Linked DNA regions of Homo sapiens: all the other regions are linked to region 3. Evidence: promoter capture Hi-C in 16 types of primary human blood cells and fetal thymus (Javierre and others, 2016). All regions are on one chromosome and are shown on one strand. Each heading gives the region's core, a stretch centred on a gene start or on the middle of the fragment in contact. The rest is flanking DNA. Distances are from core to core; before and after follow the strand shown.

What was found. The method cuts DNA at HindIII sites, captures the fragments that hold promoters and counts their contacts. A CHiCAGO score of 5 or more calls a contact.
Region 1: a contact is called between a fragment that was not itself captured here and the fragment with the promoter of LENG8-AS1 in region 3, in 4 of 17 cell types (activated CD4 T cells, fetal thymus, naive CD4 T cells and 1 more). The highest score is 11.3, in activated CD4 T cells.
Region 2: the fragment with the promoter of ZNF580 here is called in contact with the fragment with the promoter of LENG8-AS1 in region 3 in 4 of 17 cell types (activated CD4 T cells, naive CD4 T cells, total CD4 T cells and 1 more); the score reaches 7.7 in activated CD4 T cells.
Region 4: a contact is called between the fragment with the promoter of NAT14 here and the fragment with the promoter of LENG8-AS1 in region 3, in 1 of 17 cell types (naive CD4 T cells). The highest score is 7.1, in naive CD4 T cells.

Annotation. Positions count from the first base shown.
Region 1 is chr19:55,601,169-55,604,519 of GRCh38, reverse strand. It overlaps ZNF524 (zinc finger protein 524), which reads right to left. Exons shown (of 2, transcript NM_153219.4): 2 at 1,382-2,445. The coding sequence starts at 2,407. The coding sequence ends at 1,613. Among named protein-coding and RNA genes, the nearest start is that of ZNF524, 2.6 kb to the right of the region's middle. RefSeq lists enhancers at 1-251, 1,355-1,905. The HindIII fragment of the contact is 3,453 bases long and covers 1-3,151 here.
Region 2 is chr19:55,639,324-55,642,352 of GRCh38, reverse strand. It overlaps ZNF580 (zinc finger protein 580), which reads right to left and starts at 1,351. Exons shown (of 2, transcript NM_207115.2): 1 at 1,170-1,351. LOC107983998 (a long non-coding RNA gene) reads right to left here. Exons shown (of 2, transcript NR_171683.1): 2 at 1,554-2,227. It also overlaps a transcript of ZNF581 not described here. RefSeq lists a silencer at 982-1,501. The HindIII fragment of the contact is 9,119 bases long and covers 1-3,029 here.
Region 3 is chr19:54,447,699-54,451,123 of GRCh38, reverse strand. It overlaps LENG8-AS1 (LENG8 antisense RNA 1), which reads left to right and starts at 2,086. Exons shown (of 3, transcript NR_126418.1): 1 at 2,086-2,562; 2 at 2,909-2,959. It overlaps LENG8 (leukocyte receptor cluster member 8), which reads right to left and starts at 1,925. Exons shown (of 16, transcript NM_052925.4): 1 at 1,814-1,925. RefSeq lists an enhancer at 1,268-2,175. The HindIII fragment of the contact is 2,202 bases long and covers 959-3,160 here.
Region 4 is chr19:55,483,757-55,486,905 of GRCh38, reverse strand. NAT14 (N-acetyltransferase 14 (putative)) reads right to left here and starts at 1,718. Exons shown (of 3, transcript NM_020378.4): 1 at 1,648-1,718; 2 at 1,126-1,245; 3 at 1-498. The coding sequence starts at 1,197. ZNF628 (zinc finger protein 628) reads right to left here. Exons shown (of 3, transcript NM_033113.3): 3 at 2,419-3,149. The coding sequence ends at 2,533. RefSeq lists an enhancer at 1,079-1,408 and a silencer at 1,509-1,928. The HindIII fragment of the contact is 21,455 bases long and covers 1-3,149 here.

The sequences.
Region 1 (3,351 bases), core at 176-2,675, 1.2 Mb before region 3:
GTTCAAGACCAGCCTGGGCAATATGGCAAAACCCCGTCTCTACAAAAAAAAAAAATACAAAAATTAGGCTGGACGCGGTGGCTCACGCCTGTAATCCCAGCACTTTGGGAGGCCGAGGCGGGTGGATCACGAGGTCAGGAGGTCAAGACCAGCCTGGCCAAGATGGTGAAACCCCGTCTCTACTAAAATTACAAAAATTAGCCAGGCGTGGTGGCGGGCGCCTGTAATTCCAGCTACTCGGGAGGCTGAGGGAGAGAACTGCTTGAACCCGGGAGGCAGAGGTTGCAGTGAGCCAGATTGCCCCACTGCACTCCAGCCTGGACGACAGCAAGACTCCGTCTCAAAAAAAAAAAATTAGCTAAATATGCTGGCGCCCGTCTGTAGTCTCAGCTACTCCGGAGGCTGAAGCAGGAGGGTCGCTTGAGCCTGGCAGGTCGAGGCTGCAGTGAGCGGTGATAGGGCCACTGCACTCCAGCCTGGATGACAGAGCGAGACCCTGTCTCAAAAAAAAAATTATCCGTCCTCCTTGCCCCACTCTCACGCAGTTCCTCCTGTTCTTCCCCAGCTCCAAGCCCCTACTCTCTATTAGATCAACTCTATCCATCCTCTTTAAACCGCTCTCACTTTCTGCGGACCAACCCCTAAACCTCTTTAAGCCCCACCCAACTCTAACCCTCTTCTAAGCCCCCGCCCCAGGTCCCAGCCTAACTGCCCCGCAATCTCAGCCCCACCCCTCGCTCCTTAGCCCCGCCCCAATCCACACCCCTTATCTCTAAACCTTACCCAGACCGTCCTGCTCATACCTTTGTCTTAATTTTTCCTTCCAAACAGTAGGTCCTCAGGACAAGGAGGTGGGGCAAAGTGGCTGCAGAATTTCTGGGAATTGGCTAGGAGAGAGGCGGTCGGACCTACAGTCAGGTCTGCATGGAAGGTTCAATGTTTTTAGTTAGATTGGATGTGTACTGGGAATACAGCTGACCCTTGAACAACAGGGGTTTGAACTGCAGGTCCATTGAGAGGCGGACGTTTTTTCACCCAAACACCGGTGGAACATACAGTATACGAAGGGCGGATTTTCCTACATCCGCGGGTTCCGCAGGGCCCACTGCTGGACTTGTGTATGCCCAGATCTTGGTATCTGCGAGGTTCGTGGAACCAATTCCCCGCGGACTCCGAGGGACCCATGGACTTTGGGGTCTGATGGAGATGGGGAAGGGGCCAAGGTTCCCCCCAAAACCATTCTTTGGCGAGCACCACGCTCATGAGGCACAGGAAGTGGGGTCCTCTCCAATTCCCCGCACTCCCGACAGGACGGTGTAGCCGAGGAAGAACATTTGAAGGCAGGAGAGGATGGCATCCCGGCACGGAACACACACAGGCAGCCAGCAGGCAGAGATTTATTTCCACAGCCCCTGCCTCCAAGGGTCTGTTAGTCTGGGGGAGGGGGGCTGAAGGCAGCTGGACCCCAAAGTTTAGGTCTCCACCCTCCACCTGCTCCCACAACGGGAAGACCACCGGAAACAAGGGTGTCCCGGCCCCCTGGCTCAGGCCCAGCACCAGCCAAACTCCCTGCTCTAAACCTGGCCCAGGGAGCGATGGCCGGGGGTGTGGGTCAGGCCGGCTCCCCTTTCCCCTCTGTCTCCTCCTCCTCCTCGGCCCCTGCTGTGGCCGGGATGCCCTCCTCGTCCCACGGCGGTTCAGACCCTGGATCTGGTGCACACAGGGGTACCCCCATGGCCTCCGGGTGCTTGCGCTTCGCATGGCGCCGGAGCGTGTTGGCCTCTGTAAAGCGCAGCCGGCAGATGGGGCACTGGTACGGGCGCTCCCCCGAGTGCACGCGGTGGTGGTGCGCCAGCTCGCCCGCCTCGCGGAAGCGGCGGGGGCACAGCGGGCAGCGGAAGGGCCGCAGGCCGGCATGGATGTTGCAGTGCCGCCGCAGGTGGCTGGAGCGCTTGAAGGTCTTGCCGCAAACCTTGCACTGGTGCGGCTTCAGCTCTGAGTGCGAGATGCTGTGGCGCTCCAGGTCGGAGAGGTAGGGGAAGGCCCGCAGGCACACCGGGCAGAAGTGTGGGGCCTTCCTGGGGCCAGAGCCCTCAGGCCCAGCCGCTGAACCTTCAGAGACCGTATAGGGCACACCCTGATCATCGATCAGGAGGAGGTCGCTCCCGCCACTGCTGCCTACTGGGGCTGTCACCCCCTGCACCTGCACCAGTGGGGGCTCCTGCCCTGACTTGGGGGGGCGGCCCCGCTTGCGAGGGAGGGAGGCCTTGAGTGTCCGATTTGAGGAGGTGGCTCCCCCAGGACGACGGCCTCGGCGGCCCCGGGGAACAGGAGGAGATAAGGCCAGAGGTTTCTCTTCCTCCCCGGGCAAAGGCGAAGGCAACGGGTCTGGGCTGGGGGTGTCCATTGAGCAGTGGGGGGCTTGGGTCTGGGCACTGGAGCCAGCTAAGAGGAGAGAGGGGCAGAGTCAGTGCTCACAGGGTCTAGAGCACCCCTGTGTCCCCCAACACCTCGCCCATCCCTCTCTCCAAGTCTCTTGACAAAGGTGTGTTTGACATTCATCCAGATACACAATTTTAGCTATGCTGGTGGGTAAAACAGTGAGATGATCTTGTATCAGCTGATAAACAGGCACTTCCCTGAGCTCCACCAGACATCCCTATGCCTCCCTAACTCTCCTTCTGGATCTAGAAGTTCAAGATCAACATGAGCAACACCCCTCCCCACCTCCCCACAAAAAAAAACCTTCCAGAGAGGATAGAGTCCAACTGAGAGTGCAGACCAGTATTGTGATCCTTGAAACGGAGAGCCCATCAAACTCCAGAGCCATAGAGGCCTCACGAATGCTCTCATCCCTCCCTGCTGACTGGCAGAAGTGGGGAAGGGGTTCCAGAGTGGAAAAAAGGGACTGGTCCCAGGTGATATTTGACCCTGATTCCTGGATGAGGAAACATATCTGCGATGTTAAGAGCCTGGGCCCTGGAGTCAAGACATCATTCGTTCAAATCTTTACTCTCTGCGTGGCCTTGGGCAAGGTGTTCGCTTCTCTAAGCCTTAATCAAGACTTTTGCAAAATGGGACACATAGTTCTACGTACTTGCCCAGACATGCCATGAGCATAATACCCACAAAGTGTTCATACACAGAAGCTTTCAGGACACATTAGCCATTGTTATCAGGAGCAGCTAAGCCTCACATCAACCCTCTGAATAGGGCATATCTGTCCCATTTTGCAGATGGGGAAACTGAGGCACAGGAAAGCCAAGTCAGTTGCCTAAGTTCCTCTGCCAGTAAATGGCAGGGCCAAAACTGGAAACAGGTCTTGTGACCCGAATGTCCCAGAGAATGGAG
Region 2 (3,029 bases), core at 102-2,601, 1.2 Mb before region 3:
CCAGCCCGGCTCTCCCACGTTCCATCAAGCTGCCTCGGAGAGGGCCTCCAACTGAGCTCTGCAAAACCCCGCCACCACCTGCCACTCCTCCTGGGTCCACCTCTCACCACTCAGGTCAGGTCTGAGGACGTAGTCCCCCGACTTTTCTTCCCTTTTCTCCTCTCAACCCACCCCAGCAGACAATCAATCCCTAAATCTGTTTACCTCTTTACATCTTAGACCCCGGGCCTCCTGACCGCCGAGATTTCTCTAATCTGTGGTTTCTTCTTTTTTCCTGTTGCCCAGCCCCAGTTCAGTTTACTTCCCCTCCCTTTGCCGCCCCCTACCCCCCCACCGGCCCCCGTATCGGCCTCCTGGCCCTCCGTCCCCACTACATGCCGCAGGGCCTCCCCATCTTCATATTCCGTGGCCTCCCTCACTTCCTCTCTAGGTACCTCCCCAGAGCCCCACTAACCCAATTCCCCACATTTCACTAGGGCTTTTCCATCCTGTTCCTACACTTAGCACCTCGAAGTCTAGTCACCTCTCCCCACTACGGAACCCATCGTCTTACTACATCTATACACCCCAAAATGGCTCAAATGCCTTCCTTCTGTATACCCCGCCCCCCCAACCTGGCTACCTGCTACATTCTCCCCAAAGGCCCCCTTTTCTCTCGCCCCCCATATATGGCGGTGACATCGTTACTTCTTTCTGTACCCATCAGGGGCCTTCTCCCAAACCCCGTTATGCACACCAGGCTCCGGGACTCCGCTTCCCACAGCACCTCTCCCAAGCCCACTTTCCCCTCCTTTCTGTGTACGTCTGGCATCTCTCTTTCTCCTCGTGTTCACCTCTTCCAGGAGCCCCATCCCTCTCCCTGTTACACACAGCGTGGTCCCCCGCCCGTTCTTTTGCTCTGCTCCCCTTGTTTATGGGAACCCCAGCGCCCGGGCGTTTTCGCCCCCATCCCGCTACACACCGCCTGTCCCCTGGCCCTGGGGCCCCTCCTATTGCCTTCACTTCCCCAAGGAGCCCTGGCGCCTCGACTTCCCCTCCCGTCCCTCCGCCCGATCCTGCCGCTCCCGACCCCCACCCCCATCCCGGGTGGCTCCAGCGCACTCCCCCAGCCTGCCTGGCCCCGGCGTCGTCCCAGGGCCAGGCTCCTCCCTCCATCCCGGCCCCCGTACCCCGTGCGGCGGCCTCTCGGGTCCGGAGGAACGGGCCGAGGTCCCGGGCGGCCCCGGGCTTCCCCTGGCGAGCGCCGGCGGCGGAACCGAGACTTCCGGGCAGCTCCGGGCCGGCGGCGCCGGGGACGCGGGGACTGGGGGCGCGGGGGTGCGAGGGGTTGGCGGAGTCCCTGGGAAAAGGCGCCGGCCGGAAGCGCGCGAGCCCAGTGCGGAGGTTCCGCCGCCTGGAGCCGGCGCTCCCACCCCTCGCCTCTGCGGAGCGCCCTGCGGGGAGGGGACCGGAGGCGTGGGGTCCACTGAAGACGCCCGCCCCCGGCGGCCCCGCTCCCCTCCCACCTCCCGAACGGAACGATTCCGCCGCTTGACAAGAGATCGGCCAATAAACCGAGACTAAGCAAAGTTACGTCTTCGCCCTAAGGCCCACAAGGGTTTGTCCTCTTTCCACTGGGCCGTCGCTGCCTGCTCGGCCGTGGCCACCCACCGAGGTAGAGGGCGGGAGAAGGGATGTTCCTGCCGGCTGAGCAAATGTGGAGACCGAGGTCCAGAGACCAGCCATTGGCTCCGATGTGGCCGGGCCGTGATTCTCCACCCAGCAAATGGGGAGGCCGAGGCCCGGAGAAGGCCAGACGCTGCCAGATAGTTGGGGAAGGTATGTTCTTTCCACGGGGCACATGCGGGAACCGAGGCCCACAGAGGGCCAGACGGCTGCATGCGCAGGTGGGGAGGTGTGATATTTCCAGAAGGCATGTGGCGACACCGAAGCGCAGCGAAGGCCAGGCTTTGCCAGATGCGGAGGTGGGAAAGGCTGGCACTGCCCACGGGGCCCACTGGAAGCCTGATGCGGGCTCGCGGGCTGCGCCAGGTCCTGGGGCACTTGAGGCCCGGGCGCTGGCTGCGCATGCGAAGGACTCCGGCGTCGAAAGCAACGCGCGGTGGCGCTGCAGCCGCACTGGAGAGCTGCACACGCGGCAGCACTCGGGGCAGCTGCAGCTCCTCCTCCAGCCACGTGGCGCCACGGCCTCGCAGGAGGGCGGCAGCAGCAGCATCTGCAGGTGCAGCTGAGAGTGGGGGACAGAAGAGGAGTAACTGTCACAGCGAGCCCCAAGACCCTGGGGTGCCACAGCTACATCCTAGAGCACTGTCCATCAGAACTTTCTGCAATGGTGGAAAGTTCTATGACAGTCACTAGCCACGTGGGACTCTTACACTCTTGAAATGTGGCTGGTGTATCAGAGGACCTGAATTTTAAATTGTATTACATTTCCCATAATCAGCACGGTGGCTCACACCTGTAACCCCAGCACTTTCGGAGGCCAAGGCGGGCGGATCACCTGAGGTCAGGAGTTCGAGACCAGCCTGGCCAACATGGTGAAACTCCTTCTCTACTAAAAGTACAAAAATTAGCCGGCCGTAGTGGTGCTCCCCTACAGTCCCAGCTACTTGGGAGGCTGAGGCAGGAGAATCGCTTGAACCCAGGAGGTGGAGGTTGCAGTGTGCCAAGATCGTGCCACTATACTGCAGCCTGGGCAACAGAGGGAGACTGTCTCAAAAAATACTAATTTCCCATAATCAAAATTTAAGCCACATATGGCTCCTACCTTATGGAACAATTCCAGAGACCACTGTCAACCAGTTGTAAACTGGAGGCCCAAGGGCCCAAAAGGCCTCACAGTTATATTTGGTTTGGGACACAAGGTACTTTTTAAACATTTTACTGGGCAGTATGTATATTTTTTGAGACAGAGTCTCACTCTGTCGCCCACGCTGGAGTGCAGTGGCATGCTTCTGGCTCACTGCAGCCTCACCCTCCCAGGCACAAGTGATCCTTCCACTTCAGTCTCCCAAACAGCTGGGACTACA
Region 3 (3,425 bases), core at 837-3,336:
AGGCTGGAGTGAGGGGAAGCCCCTGGCCCCTTTGTAGAGCTCCAGGTGGAAAACGAAGGATTTGGAAACAGGGAAGCCAGAGCAGACTTCCCAAAGGGAAGGAGAAGGGTCTGAAACCCATGTGAGCAAAGAGAGGCTGTGATGAAAGGTCCAGAGGGTAGGGGTGCCTCCATCAAGGGGAAAAGGTCTACAAAAAATTCTAGGGGCCAGGCGCGGTGGCTCACGCCTGTAATCCCAGCACTTTGAGAGGCCAAGGCGGGCAGGTCACCTGAGGTCGGGAGTTCGAGACCAGCCTAACCAACATGGAGTAACCACGTCTCTACTAAAAATACCAAATTAGCTGGGCATGGTGGCATATGCCTGTAATCCCAGCTACTAGGGAGGCCGAGGCAGGAGAATCGCTTGAACACGGGAGGCGGAGGGCGGTAAGCTGAGACTGCGCCATTGCTCTCCAGCCTGGGCAACAAGAGCGAAACTCTGTCTCAAAAAAAAAAAAAAAAAAAAAGCTAGGGAGTACGGGTTGTGAAAGGAACCTGAACCAAGAGGATGGATGCTATAATGAGAAGAGTCTGAGGGAACCCTTAAGGCTGAGAGGGTGGAAAGGTTTCCGAGAACTCTGTGAAAAGGGAGGCCTTTCAGGGAGCATCGAGGGGGCTGGAAGAATATTGGAGAAGAGAAGAAAATTTTGAGAGGAAAAGGGGATTTTCCGGAAGTTAACCCTGGAAGCAAGTGGTCGTTGAGCGTTCCTGAGAATGCCAACGTGAACCCCAACGTGAAGAAATGGGTTCTTAGCACTGACAGACTGATTTCAAAAAGGTCTCCGAAGGGCAGTAAAGAGACCTACGTGGGAGTCCTCAGTGGGACTACCCCTGCCTGCTTCCACGGGAGGTTCCCGGAAGCAGGGGTAGGGCTGGGAGAGAAAAGGGATCACCGTGGTTGGGTGTCTGGACATAAAGCTTTGGGAATGCCAAAGAAGACCCAAAACATGTTCAACGAATTAAGAGTGGGGTACAGAGAGAATTGGAAGAAAAGTGGAGTGTCTCCGGAGCAAGGATTCAGGAGCCTAAACTCCCGAGAGGGAGTAACTGATAAGTAGGATAATTAATCCCGCAGGAGAACCGGAATTCCCACGAGTTGACGGGATAGGAACGGGAGTCTGGAGCTGGGGAAAAGCCCTAGAAACGCAAAGGCTTAACTTAAACAGGACACAGGGCGTGGGTGGAGACGAGGGATCGTGGCGGGGACACAGGAAGAGGAGCCCCAGGGCAGAAGGGAGATTAGAGGTAAGGTCAGGAGTTGGGGGCTGGACAGAGGACTCCCGGACGGGTCTCAAGAACAGAGACAGGCATCAGACGCGAGGCCTGAGGTCCCGGGAGCACCTGGCCGTCCCGCAGGCTGGGCGAAGGCAAAGGAGGACGCCGGGTGGAGGAGGCCGCTCGGATCCCCACGACTAGCCACGGAGCCACTGCCCAGGCCGCGCCTGCGCACCACGCCCCAGAAAGACGCGCAGGAGCCGCCCGTCGCCCGGGGCAACACCCGGTCAACGGCGAGTGAGGGGCGCCCCGGGGCCCCGAGAACTCCAAGGGAGAGGAACGGAAATTAGAAGACGACGGCGCACGCGCGCTAGTGCCCGAACGCGCGGCCCCAGGCCCGGTGCGCAGGCGCAGTGGCTGCCCCTGCGCCGCCACACCCTGTCGACGCTCGCGCGCGGCGTCTGCTGCTGCGACGGCCGAGAAGGCCTCGGGGCTCGCGGGGCGCAAGACCAAAAGGAGATGCTATCCCCGCCCGCCTGCTCGCCTGCCGCTCCCCTTACCAACCAGGATCCTTCGCTGCAGGGACACGCCAACAACCACCCAGGCGATCAGCAACACGGCCACGACACCGCTGTGCCACCCGGCTGGCTCTGGTCTTCTTTGGCTTCGACGTCCTGACCGCGGCGTCCTGACGTCACGCGGCGGCCTTGCACCGCCTCCCTCGGCCCTGCACAGCCAATGAACGCCACGAGCTGCGCTTGAGCCCGCCTTCCTGCCCACGCACTTACGCATGAACATTTTAAGGCAGACCGGAAGTCTGGGTGGGGACGGTGGCCCCGAGGAGACAAGCGTGGCCGCATTAGCTCTTTCTGCCTCCCACGCAGCCTTATTTTTTTTATTGTTGTTTTCTTGTTGCTGTTGTTGTTGTTCTCGGAGACGGAGTCTTGCTCTTGCTCTGTCGTCGCCCACGATAGAGTACAGTGGCGTGATCTCTGCTCACTGCAACCTCCGCCTCCTGGGTTCAAACAATTCTGCCTCAGCCTCCGGAGTAGCTGGGATTACAGGCGCGCGCCACTATGCCCGGCTAATTTTTGTGTTTTTAGTAAAGACGGGGTTTCACCATGTCGGCCAGGCTGTTCTCGAACTCCTGACCTCGTGATCCCTCCGTCTCGGCTTCCCAAAGTGCTGGGATTACGGGCGTGAGCCACCGTGCCCGGCCGCAGCCTTGTTTTGACTGAGTCAGTGGGAGCCATTACTGTTCCTAAATGTAAACTGGCGTGACAGGAGTTCCGGGATTGTCCACAGCACGGTGATGTGGAAGCCCTGGGGAGAGAATGATAAAGAAAGGGGATGAGGAACAGCTCCACCCGGAAGAGCGGGCTTCCCTAGCAAATGAATCTGGAAGGGCGCAGGGGAGGGGGCACGGCGAGTTCAGATGGACCGAGGCTGGAAGCTGACGCGGTTGGAGGGGGATGGGTGTAGCTGTTGGCAGTGGCGCTGGGGTGGAAGTGTGTGGGGTCACAGATGTGTAAGGGTGGGCGCGGAGCAGACCCCCGAAGGTCCCTGAGGTCAGGCTGAGGCATTGGACCAAATCCGTACATAGGCATTTCTCTGAACTGCGCGCCACCTTTTGAGTGCCATCTGTTTCCGTCCAGGACTCTGATACAACTATCCAGTCCGCTGCAGGGACCGGTCACTGTGTCACAGTAAGTGGTGGGATTTAAGAGGCAGTTTTCCTCCTCATGTTCTACCATTATGAACGTCTAGCTTGAAAAATACATACCATTTTCATAACTACGTATTATTTTGTTAGTGCTAGCATAGTAGATCTTTTTCCGTTATTTTACTCTGTGGGGGGGGGGGGGTTTGTTTTGTTTTTGTTTTTGTTTTCTTTTTGGTACTAAGCTTTTTGTTCTGGAATAATTTTGGATTTATTCAAAACGTTGCAAAGACCGGGCGCGCTGGCTCACGCCTGTAATCCCAACACTTTGGGAGGCCGAGATGGGTGGATCACCTGGGGTCAGGAGTTCAAGATCAGCCTGGCCAACATGGTGAAGTCCCGTCTCTACTAAAAATACAGAAATTAGCTGGGCGTGGTGGCGCGTGCACCTGTAATCCCGGCTACTCGGGAGGCTGAGGCAGGAGAATCGCTTGAACCCAGGAGGCCAAGGT
Region 4 (3,149 bases), core at 469-2,968, 1.0 Mb before region 3:
GCCCCCCTCGGCCTGGTAGCCACAGCCCTCCAGCATCCCTCCCACCCCCCAGGCGGCCACAGCCACGGGGACCACGAGCCGGGCCCGGGGCTCCCCCATGCCCCCAGCCCAGGCCCGAGCCCGGGCCTCCGCGAAGGCCAGCAGCCTCCTGCCCACGCCCCGGCGGCGGTGCCAGCGAGAGACAGACAGGCGGGTGACCCGGGCCCCGTCCCCTGCATTTGTGCCAGGGGCCAGAGCCAGGACCCCACACACGTCACCGGAGCCCCGCACGGCCACCCAGGGGCCCCCCAGGCCACCCGGCGGAGGCAGCGAGCCCCATCGGGCCCGCAGGCCCAGCTTCACGGCGGCCACAGCCAGGAACACCGGCAGGAGGAGGGCCAGGGCGAAGGAAGCCAGGACAAAGCGCAGGCCGCTGCTGGCCGCCGCCAGGAGGAGCAGGGCCGGCGGCCGTGTCAAGGCATGGAGGGCCACGCGGTTTTCCGTGTCCTTCACGCCGGCCTGTGGGCAGGAGGGGTGGCTCAGCCATCCGAAACGCTAGGGCCTCCTGGACAAAGAGAGGAGGTAGACCCTGCCCGGGGCGGGGTGAGAGCTCCCAAATGGGAAGGGAAGGCAGCACAGTCCGATGTTCAGTGTGGCACACTGGGTATGGAGTGAATGAATGAACGAGAGCGAATGATGGATGGATGAGTGAATTAGGAGCTGTGGGGGCACTCAATTCAGTAGCAATGCCGCAGTGAGGCCCCAGGGAAGTAAGGACAGGGAGGTTGCCTCAGGCTGGAGTGGAGGCTGGAGGGAGGCTGCTGGGCTAGGTTGGGGTGCTGGGCTGTGCTTTGAAGAGTTGGGGTCCGAGGCACAGAGCTGGCTGTTGTGCTGGCGTGCACAGCCGACTGGAGATGGGAGACCAGGGAGGGCGTTGGTGCTGGGGTCCCAGTAGGGCTGGGGGGGTGAGCCCCCACCTGCCACACCTGCTGTGGTTTTCAGCAGCAGGGCGGCTGAGGCTCAGGAGGAAAAGATCCCGCTCCAGGGGTCCAGGCTGGCTCAGGTGGGTGGGAGGGGGTGGCTGAATCCACTTGCAATTCCCCCACTGCAGCCACTCCCAGGCCCCCTGGGGCCCCTGCCTCTCACCTTCAGCATCTCCAGCACCAGGGGCTTCTCATCTTCCCTCATCTCCCGCACTGACAGGTGGCTGGGGGCCATGGCAACCCCCAGGCCCCGGCCCCCCAGAAGGGAGCTGGCGTCGTGCACCTGGTGAGAACATAAGTAGGTCAGCGTCAGGGGGGCACCTCTGTCCCCAAAGCTCCCCCGAGGGGTAGGGAGCAGCAACGGCACTTCCCAGATCAGGACACTGAGAACCCTCGGGGCCCCCAAGCGAGGATCTCGGCAGGACAGGCGCCCCCCACAATACTCAGCGACCTTGCTAAAGTCTCCCGGGATCCCCCCTCCCCCGTATTATTCAGCGATCTACACTCCCAAACGCGCTGCGGACGCCAACACTGCAGCACGGGGCTCCCTCCCAGGCACTGGGGTCCACGAACACCCTCCCCACATGCCAGAGAACGGACCACGCTCGCTCCACCCCGGTCCCCAGCGCCCCCTCCCCCACAGTCGTCCCCGTCCCGCGCCACAAGAACAAGGACCAGCAAGCACCTGCACCGGTCGCCTTTGGTCCTTCGACAAGGTTTCGGGAGCGGGTCTGGAAGGGGGTCGCGGGCGGAAGTGACGTCAGACCGCGCGCGGTGGGGCGGGGCGGCGCCCGCTCCGGGCCGTAGCAACCGTTGCTAAGCTCCCCGGAGGGCGGGCTGGGAGGAACCGAGCTGTGACCCTGCGGAGGGCCGGGAAGCGACCTCTCCTATCCCTAGAGAAGGAGCAACGGGGAAAGGGGACCTGGGGAAGAACGGGAGCGGAAGCCGGCAGGAGACGGGCGGCGGGCTGGGGACCAGCGCGAGCTCCCGCCCCACGTTCCCTCGTTGCTGAGCAACCTGAGCGCCGGGCGGCGACGCCAGCGCGTGGATTCTCATCCGTGCCGGGGCCTTCGCGGGAGGAGCCGGCCACGCTCAGCATCCTGGCGCCCGACTCCCCCATCCCCAGGGACCCCACTCCACCCACGGGGCGCCCGGGGTCGCAGAACCCTTCCGCATAAGGATCCCCCTACTTCTCACACGAGGGGGGCAGCGGGGCGACCTACAGTGAACAAGTAGCACTCCCTGGAGTCTGATGTCACCACCTCCCCACTATAATGACCCCTGCGGCCTTTTTTGGTTTCAGGACAGGGGAACTGAGCCCTACGTAGTGGCTGGCCCCAGGATGCAGAACAAGCCATCTGCGACCCAGGACGCAAGACTTAAGACTCCACGCTCCCAGGCGGGGGCTAGGACCATGACTTTGCCCCCTTCCCTCCCCCCAGGAAAACAAAACACAGGCGGGGAGACTCGGGTCTTTATTAGCAAGCCCAGCCTGCGGCACCCTGCCCCGCCCCGGCTGGCAGTGAGTCGGGGTCTCTGTGCGGGGCGGGAGGGGAATCACTGCCTCTCCTCAAAACGTGTGCACCAGCTGGACTGCGGGTAGAGTCTGGACAATCTGGATGGAGGGCAGGCCCTGAGGGGTCATAACACCAGGCCCAGCTCCTGCGGGGACCACTTGCACCATCTGGGAGGCTGGAGCCCCGGGGAGCCCCGCGGGGCCCGAGGCTGGGCCTGACGGCGGTGGGGCCAGGAGCTGCAGCGTGGCGGTGCCTCCTCCAGTGTTGCTGCTGTCCAGCAGCTCAGTGGCTGGGGCGCTGCGGATGATGAGGAGTTTCTGTCCGGGTGGGCCGGTGGCAGGCGGCTCCGTCAGCCCAGGAGGAAGTGTTTCTACCTCCTGTACGCAGAGTCGAGTCTGTTCGCCATCGGCCCCGCTCAGCACCAGCACGCTCTGCAAGCCCTCGTCCGTCTGGAGTGTCTCAAAGAGGACATCCTGGACCACACCAGTGCTGGCCTCGCCATCCCCCGCCTCCCCGGGGCCCGGGCCAGTGAGCAACTCCTCAGCTGCCCCGCTCTGAACAACCAGCAGGTTGGGTGCCTCAGTAGCCACAGCTCCCCCACTGGAATTGGAGAGCTGGCCGGCCACGGGCTGGAGCTGGACCGTGGTCACCTCCTGTGCTGGCTGGAGCT